Regions from separate parts of the Homo sapiens genome. Here region 2 is linked to region 1. The links are contacts of gene promoters, found by promoter capture Hi-C in human tissues and cell types (Jung and others, 2019). All regions are on one chromosome and are shown on one strand. The core of a region is centred on a gene start or on the middle of the fragment in contact, and the rest is flanking DNA. Distances in the headings are between cores, read along the strand shown.

Evidence for each region. The method cuts DNA at HindIII sites, captures the fragments that hold promoters and counts their contacts. A contact is called where the count stands out against the background at its distance.
Region 2: a contact is called between a fragment that was not itself captured here and the fragment with the promoter of C15orf61 in region 1, in 5 of the 25 tissues and cell types used here (IMR-90 fibroblasts, bladder, liver and 2 more).

Annotation. Positions count from the first base shown.
Region 1 is chr15:67,517,478-67,523,466 of GRCh38, reverse strand. It overlaps C15orf61 (chromosome 15 open reading frame 61), which reads right to left and starts at 2,336. Exons shown (of 2, transcript NM_001143936.2): 1 at 1,873-2,336. The coding sequence starts at 2,218. IQCH-AS1 (IQCH antisense RNA 1) reads left to right here and starts at 1,623. Exons shown (of 6, transcript NR_040052.1): 1 at 1,623-1,948; 2 at 4,365-4,467. RefSeq lists enhancers at 1,910-2,029, 2,670-2,749 and a silencer at 2,140-2,489. The HindIII fragment of the contact is 11,118 bases long and covers 1-5,989 here.
Region 2 is chr15:67,601,152-67,607,666 of GRCh38, reverse strand. All of the region lies in intron 8 of MAP2K5 (mitogen-activated protein kinase kinase 5), which reads right to left. Among named protein-coding and RNA genes, the nearest start is that of MAP2K5, 62 kb to the right of the region's middle. The HindIII fragment of the contact is 8,159 bases long and covers 984-6,515 here.

The DNA of each region.
Region 1 (5,989 bases), core at 1,087-3,586:
GACGGAGGAGAAAAGGAGCAAATGGGTAAACAGAAATCTTTATTATTTACAAAATGGAAAAATGAATTTGGAAGGGAAGAAGAGGAACAAAATCCTAAGTATAATATTAATAGGATATGTACTTTATCACCCAGAGAGACGATTGTACCTCACAGAATAGGAAAGGACCTATTATCTAATTCACATCCCCTCTACCTTCAGACAAAAATTAAAAATAAACGTTACCAGATGTGTTCACCACTTTAAAATATTTTTTAATTCCCTTTATCAGTATATCCCAATTTGTATTAAAGCATGCATGAGCAAAAAGTTGTCCTTTTTGCTTAACTTAGAACTCTTACTCCCATTTTAGCAGGATTTTTAGAATGTCCAAAAGACCATACAGACCATTAAATCACTCTCCCACATTAATAAACAAAACAAAACAAAAAACACTACAACTGTTGTTTCTTTCAACTTTAAAAGGTTTTACTTTTCTATGTGTGGAATGTTCTGAGTATCCACTTTTTTTGGATGTCTTAATCTCTAAATCTAAAAGAGAGGCCCCTAATCATTAAGGTGCTCTTAAACAAAATGTCAACACTAAAAATGTGACTTTAAAGGAAAAAAAGGCATTTGGCTCATGGTTTACCTATAACTCTCCCGTTATGCTTTTCCTAACCTATTATTCTTTAGGGAAGAATGATTTCTTACTTATGAAAAATGCTAAAATAAACTTATACTTCTCGAATCTAGTTAACACTCCAGTCTTTCCAAATAATTTCGAATTGAATTTCCTAAGTCACCTCACCCTTCAACTTCAACCAACCTCCAAAGTAGTGGGCATGCTCTATACAGTCCATCAGCCAAATAATAAGAGGCATTTTTAAAGGATAACACGTTGCTAAACAATTATCTCCTTACAGGACAGTCCAGTGGAGTAACGGCTCAAAAAGCCCACGACTGACATATGTGTTATTATAAGCACAAATACACAGACTATTTTTAACCTTAATGGACGATCAGATTATGTAATAGTATTAGTAGTACGGCTGCGCAGGGTTTAGTTTTAATCCTGGCTTTAAAAACCTGGCTGGGTAACATGGTTCATTCAGCTCCATGGCTAGATTTTGAATCACTGAAATCTAGATTGATTTTATGCCAGCTATTAGTAAGTTCAAAACATCTTGAGGCCTTCTGTTTTCCCCTGACCTATAAAAGATACACCCATGTCCATGTTCGTACCTCCCTCTTCTGTCATTAAACCAAAAGAAAATAAACACCTAGTGACAGTAAACATCCTCAGGGCGTCTCCATGAAAATATACAAATATTAAAGATCTTTAAAAATCTTTTAGGCCTAGCACCTCAGGAAGCTGTTATGTCTGGTGAAAACCTTTGGTGCTTTTAGTAAAACGAACTTGCCGGGAATTCATACAAAGAAAACAAAAGAAACTTAAAAGAGTAGTTCCAGTTATTGCAACATAAACGCAGCTGCAAAGTGATGTTCACGGGAATGAGTCCTGCCATGCAGTAGGACGGATGTCAACTTCAGAGCCACTTTCTAGGGGGCGTTTCCTGACGCCCCCTGGCTTACTGCCCAGGCCAGGGGTCTACTCTGGTTAACATGGGCAGGACAGGAGGGCGACCCGCCCCTCCCTAGGCCCGAGGACGCGCCCGCAGCAGGCGAACGGCTTCGGGTGCCAGGAGCTCAGCAAGCTGGGGACCCCCTGGGCGAGGAGTACAAAGGACCCCAGGCGAAGCCGGCGCCGGGAGGCAGAGCTGACTCCCGCGGGACTCTACCGGCCTGCGAGCGTTCGTCACGTGCTCGGTGGCTGAGGGGCCGTCCCGGCCGGGCGGGCTTCACCGCGTGGGCGCGGCAGTCGCCACTCACCGAGGTTGACGACCTTGAGCGCCGTGAAGAAGCGGTTCTGCCGGGCCAGGTCCTGCCAGGGAGCCTTGGAGCAGTGGTACTTGATGAAGGGGAAGCAGCCGGTGCGCAGGACGTGGTAGTTGGCGCCCTGCACCGGCCAGTTGAAGTGCGAGAGGCCGAACTGGTCGTTGCGGACGGCGCTGTAGGGCACGCAGAAGGAGGTCCAGTGCGGCAGGCGCCGCTGCAGCAGATGCCGCGTCAGCACCTCCGAGGCGCTGGGCTTGGGGCGGGCGGCGGCGCGCGAGGCCCACGGCCTACACAGCAGCAGGCGGAGCGCGACCTCGTGGGCCCTCCTCAGGGCCTCCATGGCCCGCCGCGCCGGGGACGCAGGCTGGTGTCCGCAGCCGCTGGCGCGCAAGCGCGCCCCCGGGCGAGCGCCGGGAAGGCCAACCGGCGCCGCGCGGGTGCCCGAGAGCCCCCGGTGTGCGGCGGCGCGTGCGCACAGCGGCCCCGTGGCCTCCCGCTGGGGGTGGAGTCCGGGGGATGGGAAGCGTGAGCTGCGCGAGGCGGAGGGTCACCTGCGTCAAGGAGCTGGTTTTGAGTGGCCAGGTGTGACCTCACGCCGTCATTAGTAACTCGGGCAGGGGAGGGATTCGGGGAGGTCTCATCAATTTGGGCCTGAGGAAAATTCAGGTGGAAGACAATTAAATAACTAACCACCTCCGCAAGGTGCAGAACTCAAACCCAAGTCTCCCTCCCACGCCCTGGGCTCCAGGGAAGCCCTTGGGTGTTGTTGTTGAAACAGGACGAGGCGTGACCCCGGGTCTGCGTTGTTTGGTAAGGCCGGGAGCACTTTTGTGTGTAGGTCCTCGCTGTCGGGTTCACTGTTTAAAATTAGTCCCAGAGATTTCAAAATCAAAAGTTTATTTAAAAACCTCACGTGTCTCAGTGCAGCGTCCGAACACACAAAGGCACCTCCCTCTAAGAACCTGGTAGACGGACCAGGAGCCTCTTATCGAGCTTTGTGGACCTCAGTCACCCATTACCAATCCATTACTTTCGGAAAAGCTTTGCTCAAACTTTGCGGCCTCTTGAGGCAGTAACTTACGGACAAAACTGCTTTTAGAAAAGGATTTCCTCTTTTGTCCTAAACTCATTTTGTTTGGAGAGGCCATACATAAACAAGATGATGTGTCTGAAACCACCTTATGTAAATGAGGTACAGTAATTACGCGTTAAGCATCATATAACAATTACTATCGTTGCTAAAAACTCAAGGGGGATGTAGGATAGTATGGCGAAATTTTATATTCCCCAGTTTTTTGTTTTGTTTTGTTTTGTTTTTTTGAGACGGAGTCTCACTCTGTTGCCCAGGCTGGAGTGCAGTGGTGCAATCTCAGCTCACTGCAACCTCTGCCTCCCAGGTTCAAGTGATTTTCCTGCCTCAGCCTCCCGAGTGGCTGGGATTACAGGCGTGCACCACCACGCCTGGCTAATTTTTGTATTTTTAATAGAGACGGGGTTTCACCATGTTGGCCAGGCTGGTCTCAAACTCATGACCTCGTGATCCACCTGCCTCGGCCTCCCAAAGTGCTGGGATTACAGGCGTGAGCCACTGCACCAGGCCTATTCCCCAGTTTTTATTGAACATTGAGCACCCACCAACATATGCCGAATCTTGAACTTTACCTTACAGAATTTGAAGTTGAACTTTACCTTATAGAACTTGAACTTTATAGAATTTCTTTTTCTTTTCTTTTTTTTAGAAAGGATCTCACTGTTGTCTAGGCTGGAGTGCAGCTGCTCGATCTCGGCTCACTGCAACTTCTGCCTCCTGGGCTCAAGAGATCCTCCCACCCTCAGCCTCCCAAGTAGCTGGGACTGCAGGTGTGTGCCACCTACACTCGGCTGCTTTTTTTGGTATTTTTTGTAGAGGTGGAATTTTGCCATGTTGCCCAGGCTGGTCTTGAACACTTGGGCTCAAGTGATCCGCCCGCCTCGGCCTCCCAAAGTGGTGGGATTACAGGTGTGAGCTTCTGCACCTGACCAAATTAAATTTTGAAAAAGAGTGGAGTCCTTTTTCAAACGAAATCTGTTGAAGGTCCCCAACATATAAAGTTGGTTAAAACTTATGCTTTAGGCCGGGCACGGTGGCTCACGCCTGTAATCCCAGCACTTTGGGAGGCCGAGGCCAGTGGATCATCTGAGGTCAGGAGTCCGAGACCAGCCTGGCCAACATGGCGAAACCCTGTGTCTGCTAAAAATAGAAAAATTAGCCGGGCGTGGTGGCACATGCCTGTAGTCCCAGCTACTCGGGAGGCTGAGGCAGGAGAATCACTTAAACCCAGGAGGCAGAGGTTGCAGTGAGCTGAGATCGTGCCACTGCACTCCAGCCTGAGCGACAGAGCGAGACTCCGTCTCAAAAAAAAACAAAAAAAACAAAAATAACTTATGCTTTATTACTAAGCATAAGTTCAAACTTTTTTTAACTTTTTATTTTACTTATTTTTTAGGCGTGGGTTCTCACTATGTTGCTTAAGCTGGTCCAGAACTCAAGCCAGTCTCTCACTTCAGCCTCTTGAGTCGTTGGGATTACAGAAGCCACCATGTCCAACTGTAAGTTCAAATTTTTTATATTAACTTTATAGATAAAAAACAAAACAATGAAACTTCAGTGTGTTGTTGTCTTGGATTTTCTTTTGTTTTGAGCAGAAAGGGGATTCATTGGAGGAAAATTAGGTAGCCCAAATAGTAAACAAGAAGTCTAGAGAACCAGGCTCAGAAAATGGGAAGGAACGAGGAGAGTCCGAACAGCAAAGACATAGATAAGACCAACAGGAACTAGTCTGGCGAGCATGCCATTGCTGGCCCCACTGCCACAGGACTCTTGATCCTGTTGCTTGCAAAATGTTGAAGCTGGGGGTTGTGGTTGTGAAAGTGGATCCTTTGAATTGAGTTGTTCTTATCCCCAGCTAAAACAGTGGAAAAGCCAGGGGGAGAAAGCACTCAGGACATATGACATTACTTTAGAAATGTAGTTCTCGGCCGGGTCCAGTGACTCACGCCTGTAATCCTAGCACTTTGGGAGGCTGAGGCGGGCGGATCACGAGGTCAGGAGATCAAGACCATCCTGGCTAACACGGTGAAACCCTGTCTCTACTAAAAATACAAAAAATTAGCCGGGCGTGGTAGCGGGCGCCTGTAGCCCCAGCTACTCGGGAGGCTGAGGCAGGAGAATGGCGTGAACCCGGGAGGCGGAGCTTGCAGTGAGCCGAGATCGCGCCACTGCACTCCAGCCTGGGCGACAGAGCGAGACTCCGTCTCAAAAAAAAAAAAGAAAAAAAAAAAAAGAAATGTGATTCTTTGCAAGTCCCCCTGCTGAAACTGCCTGTTGTGACCTGAGACCAGTTTTATCTGTAACTGCTGAGATAACTTGCTGCAACTCTAGGACTAATTCTTCCCACTGCCATCCCTCACCTATTGGAGCTTGCCAGCCCCTCAGAACCTTACTAGTGCCAATGAACTTTCTCAAAGAGCACTATGTAACATTTTTCTGTTTTATAAAAGCTCCAACCTTCTCTTTGCTCTTCAGACATATTGAAGACCACCTGGTCTGTGTGTATATACCAAATTGCAATTTTTTTCCGCAGAAAGCTGTTAAATTTAGAGATTAATCTCTATATCTTTATTTTAACTTCAACATAGTTGCAGTTACAGCAGACTCAGTATCCAGTTTATTTCTGCATCTTCTGTTTTGGTTGTATACTATCAAGAAAATTCCGATTTCTTCAGAGAATTAGATACAAATAAGAGTGATTTTTAAATTATGCACCTTGAAATCTGGCCATGTGCTTCAATTACAAAAATGGCAGCAGGAGATTAATTATGAGATCTACACTGAAATGACTTAACCTAAAATTAATGTGTGGGCAGTTTGCAATATGTTAAATTTTGGCATTATCTCTCTTTTGGCAATATAAAAATCTTTTTTTAAAAAACATGACATTTGAATTGAACATGTGCAGAACCCCTGAAGTATGTCTGAGAAACCCTAGGTTCTGTGGCATATGAGATGAAAACCACTGACAAAGAGAACCAGATATTACATATGTTCACTGCATTTTCACATCAAGAAGGC
Region 2 (6,515 bases), core at 3,814-6,313, 81 kb before region 1:
TCCCTTAAGCCAAGGTTAGCAGAAAATGATCAATACTTCAATCTCAATAAACTATTTCAATAATAGTTAATTCGGGTGGAAACTGAGTCTGAAAATCTCTGCTCAGCGACCTGTGACATCCTGTCATGTTGGCTGGATGCCAATAATACATCATTGCCATAATGGATATGAGCATGTATGAAGTTACAGGAACATGGAGAGGTGGGGAAAAGCAAAGGTGGGAAAGGTACAGAGAACCATGAGCTCAGGTTCATTCCTTAGATTCGAATCAATAAAATATACATTATCGTATGAAACAAACCTGTAACAATGAATGCTGAGAGAAGGAGAGAAGGAAACATACATAATTAATTTTATTTGACAAATATTCATTGATTTTCTGAAAACATTAATATCCTTGCTTGTCACGATACTATAATGCAATCCAGTCATATACAAATATTTAATTTTGCATTAGGATGATGTCTTGTTTGCTTCTTTAAAATATGATCTTGGCTGCAAGGAAAAGACTCCTTAAGTGATTAGAAATTTAAAGTCAAAATAAATCAAACCATCATTCTAGCTCTCAGGTCAATTTTAAAACCATTTAAAAACTACTCTTAATTTACAAGATACACATCATGCAAAAATATATAAAGGAGTAGGGCCACTAACACAGCCACAAGCGAAGCTGGGTCCAGACCTCTTGCTCCCTCTTTAAGTTTCACACCTTCAGGTTGGTTGGTGAAAGAGGAAGTCAAGGTTTTCTGGGTACTATGTGGTTCCCAATATTTTCACCACCAAGGACTCTTTTCATTCTGTTTCCCCTAAGGAATTCCATGTTTTGAAATATTCTGTTTACTAAATAGCATTTAACTAGACAATTTATGTATTTTCTCATTTTATACAAATGACCATCAGTCCTTCTAATTTTCATTAAATAAATCATATTACTATAATGAGCTAATATGATTCCAGCTCCCAAACAGTAATTTAATGTTTTAGTTGGCCTCTACAGTCAAATCACAAGTGCAAAACACAACCTAATAGGCCACAGGATCTCAGTTACCACCTCCAAGGACCATCCCCAGCCCACTGCCCAGCAAATACCTCTTTTTAGATAAGGCAACAGAAAGGAGGAGAGACCAGCATCTTTGAGAATGACAATTCCTTCCCTCCTCTTATTGTCTCTAGATAGGTTCAAATTAATTCCTAAGTAATGGTATACATTCAACCTTCAAAACACCATGAAGGCAGTATATATACTACCCATTGTATCACTGAGAAAATTCTACCTCAAGTCCAGATCAGACTCTTACTCTATCCTGTGGGAAGGAGCTGGAGATAGAAAATTCAGTTTTCAAACATCTTGAGACTAGATTATCTGGCCCCAAAGCTGAAAATATGAGTCTTGGCTTGAATAACTGGCATTAAGGAAAAAATAATATAAAAGATAATCTTTCAGTGATTGCTGGCTAACTGACTTACTATGATTTAATCCTAAAAGTTAAATATTACTTCATTTCTAGATCCAAAGTTTGAGTGACTCCATCAAATGATATGCCAAGGAAGCAGAGTCTGAGAGACTGGCTTTGGAATCAAACAATGTTTCCAAAGTAACTATGCCTGTTAATTACTTTTATTTCCATATGACATACTACCCAAGAAAAAGAGACAGTAACTAGTGAGTCAACAGATACTAAGCACTGAAGGTTTTAACATTTTAAAGAAAGTTAATCATTCGAATATCAATCTCCTCAGTGTGGATATTCTTTTTCTTCTAGGTGAATGTTCTACAACAATTGTACAGCCTCGCAAAGTAGCTAGATATGAGGAAGATCCAATGAAAGAGCCCCACTAAAACCTCCACTTGCCTCATTCTCATTTTAGCCAAGACGTACCAAGGGTCTATTTTATCCTTAAAACTGTGCTGGGTACATGAGAAAACACAAGAAAACAAAATGGACTCTGCTTGACCTTGAGACAACACTGCCTGGGGGAAGAACACCAAGCAAAAAGAAAAGAAATGCTGTATAGAAATCTGGCTTTGCTGCTGAATGGCCACATGATAAGCCCCAGTTTTTTCAGTGGTAAAATGGGCTTAACCCAGCTGTCCTATAGCAATCTGAAAATAAATTAGGATTAAAAATACTTTGAAACTTTAAAAAATCATTGTATTTAAGATAATACATAAGATATCATGATTCATTAAGCAACTACAGAATAGAAGAAAATACAGAAGTATAATGTGTATAATATAAAGGCAGAATTTCTCAAAGTTAGTTCAACACAACTATAATTCTGTGAGATGTTTATCAAAAAGAGTCCCATGGCTGGCTGGGGGTGGTGATTCACGCCTATAATCCCAGCACTTTGGGAGGCCAAGGCAGGTGGATCATGACGTCAGGAGATCCAGACCATCCTGGCCAACATGGTGAAACCCCATCCCTACTAAAATACAGAAAATTAGCTGGGCATGGTGGTACATGCCTGTAATCCCAGCTACTCTAGGGAGGCTGAGGCAGGAGAATCACTTGAACCCGGGAGGCAGAGGTTGCAGTGAGACGAGATCTTTCCACTGCACTCCAGCCTGGCGACAGAGCGAGACTCTGTCTCAAAAAAAAAAAAGAAAAGAGTCCCATGGCCAAGTCAAGGTAGGAAGTACAAAATGTAAATAATTTTTCTATTATTAGTACTACCATTACCAGTAGTTAACATTTAATAAGTGTCAGTCATAGCGCTAAGCCTTTTACGGATCTTCTCATTTAACCTCACAACAACCTAGATACTATTAATTTTTTTTTCTTGTTCTGTTGCCAGGCTAGAGTACAGTGCCACAATCTCGGCTCACTGCAACCTCCACCTCCCGGGTTCAAGCTATTCTCCTGCCCCAGCCTCCCGAGTAGCTGGGACTACAGGCGCCCACCACCATGCCCAGCTAATTTTTATATTTTTAGTAGAGTCGGGGTTTCACTATGTTGGCCAGGATGGTCTCAATCTCTTGACCTCGTGATCCACCTGCCTCGGCCTCCCAAAGTGCTGGGATTACAGACGTGAGCCACCGCACCCCGCCCAACCTAGATACTATTATTATCCCCATCTTGCAGATGGGAAAACTGAGGCATAAGACATTATATAACTTGCCAAAGGTTACGTAGCTAATTAGTGACAGAGGCAGGATTCAAACTTAGAGCCCTCACACTTAACCACAACACATACTATTCTCTACTTTCTCAAAGTTTTTGAAATTCATTATGAATCTCTCAGAGGGAAATAGAACATGTGTCTTTCCTGAATTTATTTTTTTGGAGCAACTTGCAGCACTTTAGGAAATGAGGCAACAAGGAAAATACATTCATTATCTTTTCCTAAACTTTTCTTCTTCCTAGGCTTGGGCCATACTTTAAGGTATTTCCTTTATGTTCCATGTAGCCCAAATTAGTAATCCAAGAAATACCAACTTAAAATTACCTGCCTAAGTCACTCTCATAATATAGAGCACAGCTCGTCAGGAGACAGCACACAGAATTCACATTACCATTTGGTTTAAATGTCTGGGGCCAGAATTTCATATTGTACAACTGTGAAGGATATCTACACTTAAAGGAGGAAAATGTATCAACTGTTAAATCATATACATTGTAATTACACGATTATAATATCCCTTGAAATTCCCAAAATTCCATCAAGTGAAGTGAATAAGACTGCATTATTAAACTTTTGCTTTGCACTTATTAGCTTTATTACACTTTAAAGAAAAAAATGGAATAAGCCTATTAGGCAGTTTTGTTACCAATGAGTGGATTTTCCAATATTTTCTTCATCTAGTTTATGTAGCATAGCCTATAATGTAATCATGCTGTTTGAAAAACCATATTTTTTATCATCAACACCATTAAGGTGAACTTAGTGTAGAAGAAACTCAATCATAACACATCAAACACTTAGTTTTATAGAGACTTTAGTAAAGTGGATCCTCATTTATCAATGATTATATCATTTCTTTGCACTGTACTAAAAGCCAGGGATATAAGAACAATAATACAAGCTGAAGCCTGAGCAAAAATGATGCCCAATGATCAATGACAAGCGGTTATGCAATTTGGTATCTTCACCGCCCCTCTCAAGAATCACACAGGCAATAAGGTAAATGAAATTTCTTTTTATAAGAAATCTACTATATAAGAATGAAAATTATCAGGATACTGTCATTCACCATCTATAAGCAATCCTGTCAAAAACATTACATCTTACAACACTCACAGTGAGCATTAGCAACGGTAGCTAAATGAGCTCTTAGGATAAATTCCTAACGTTACACACAGCATTCTAGCAAATTAAAAAACTTGTGGCAAGGACATATAGAAGAATGGTCCCTTTGACATAGTAGCCCTAATTAAAGGAGAAGTTCTAGCCATGCTTCTTAGCTAAAAACAACATTAACAGAGTGATGGGGGAGTTACTGTTTAATGGGTGCAGAGTTTCGATTACACAAGACGAAGAGTTCTGTGGATGAATGGTGTTAACAGTTGCCAACAATGTGAATGTACTTAATGCCACTAACTATACACTTAAATATGGTTAAAATGTTAACTTGAGTTATGTGTATTTCACCACAATTTAAAATAACAATTTTAAAAACAACATTAACATAATTTCATGTTGTAATTTTCCCTTGGGGGATGGGCATGTTTTTTCCACTTCTCTGTATACTCCCTCTTTTAAAAAATAAACCTGGCCAGGTCTGGTGGCTCACTCCTGTAATCCCAGCACTTTGGGAGGCCAAGGCAGGTGAATCACGAGGTCAGGAGCTCGAGACCAGTCTGGCCAATATAGTGAAACCCCATCTCTACTAAAAATACAAAAATTAGCTGGGCATGGTGGCGTACGCCTGTAATCCCAACTGCTTGGGAGGCTGAGGCAGGAGAATCCTGGGAGGCAGAGGTTGCACTGAGCTGAGATCGTGCCACTGCACTCCAGCCTGGGCAACAGAGCGAGACTCCATCTCAAAATAAACAAACCAACCAACAAACAAACAAGCCTATGTTTTAAAATAAAGGATTAAAATGTCAACATCTAGAATATTATGTCTCGTAAAAATTCTGCTGGGGTTTCATGGTCTTATGCTTCTTCCCTTCTAGAAATAAGCTAGGAAAATAAATTCACAATAGACCTTCAATTAATATAAAACTAAAGGTTTGGTGAAATAACACAGATAAGTAGGTTAGGAGTCTAAATAAACATTTTTAAATTCCATTTGAAGCAAATAAAAGGAATACAAAGAGTTGCCAGAAATCTTTCCTGTTTTATTATATTTGGCTATCAGCATAAAGGCATTAAGAAGAAAGGTTCAAGCTTTGAAAAGTGCTCCCTCCAGGGAACTCAATAGAAGCAAATCAGAGTATACATGTTCCTTCTTCCTCTTTCCTTTCTATGGGTACCTGAACTTAAGTACCTTCAGAACACAGGAAAAATCTAAGTCAGATCGTAAGGAAGAGAAGACTAAGATGAAAAGATACCGTTTATAGTGGAGGTTGCGTGGGAAGGAACGCTAGTATGATCCAGGGAAAGAGAATAGTAGCCGCAAAAATCATTAGACACATTGGACCTCAATTTTAAGGGCCAGGCCCAAGGCCCAAGGAACATGTAAGAAACATGTTATTATTTATTTCTCTGAATTATCATAGTGGAAGAACTTCATTTTCAGACCAACTGTTCACAATACTCAGTCATCTGCAGGAAAAAACAATCCAAACATGTGAACATAAGTTCTTAAAGGACTATATTCAGGAGAAAGGACTCACATCTTGGCTGTATCTGCAAAGGGCACTGAAGCCCTGAATGGGTGACTGGATCAGATTACTTCAAAAGAGCTTCTAAGCCTGAGAAATCAAATTCTATACCAAGGCTGCATCAATGAGTAGGGGATGTTCTGGGATTTTTAGGATGTGAACCTTCATGGTCATAGAATAGGGCAATTTTTATGTGTATTCATGTGGTTAGTCAGAACTTAAAATTCTAAGAACATGGGTAACCAATTAGAAAATAAGTTAATTATTTTACAACTCTGGAAATACATATTAATATCAATGTTAAAGTATCTGTGGTTGTGATCTAATATCACAACCATAATGTGATGCAGGATTAGTGTATACATGGAAAACCAGCTCTCTGGAGGAAAGTTTTATTATTCCCTCAGGGCTTTCTTACAGAGTATGGATTTTTTAATTCCTAGTGGAATATTTTTCATACACCATTGCAGACTATTAAGTACCAGATATTACATTATGTAGTTTAAACTTTGCACTACTGCATGAGAAGACCTCCCTGTCGGAGAACTATTTTTTATGGCTAGCATTTTTTAAGATGAAAATGAACATTCCTTTGGGGTAAGATCACTGCAACTGGAATTTGGGAGAACTTTATAACTTAACATATTCATCAATGTGTAGAAATTATCTCAGGGGAGTAGGGTGAGGAGAGAAGAAAATACAACAGGAAGAAGGCTTTTTAATAACTTATAGTGTTGACACAGG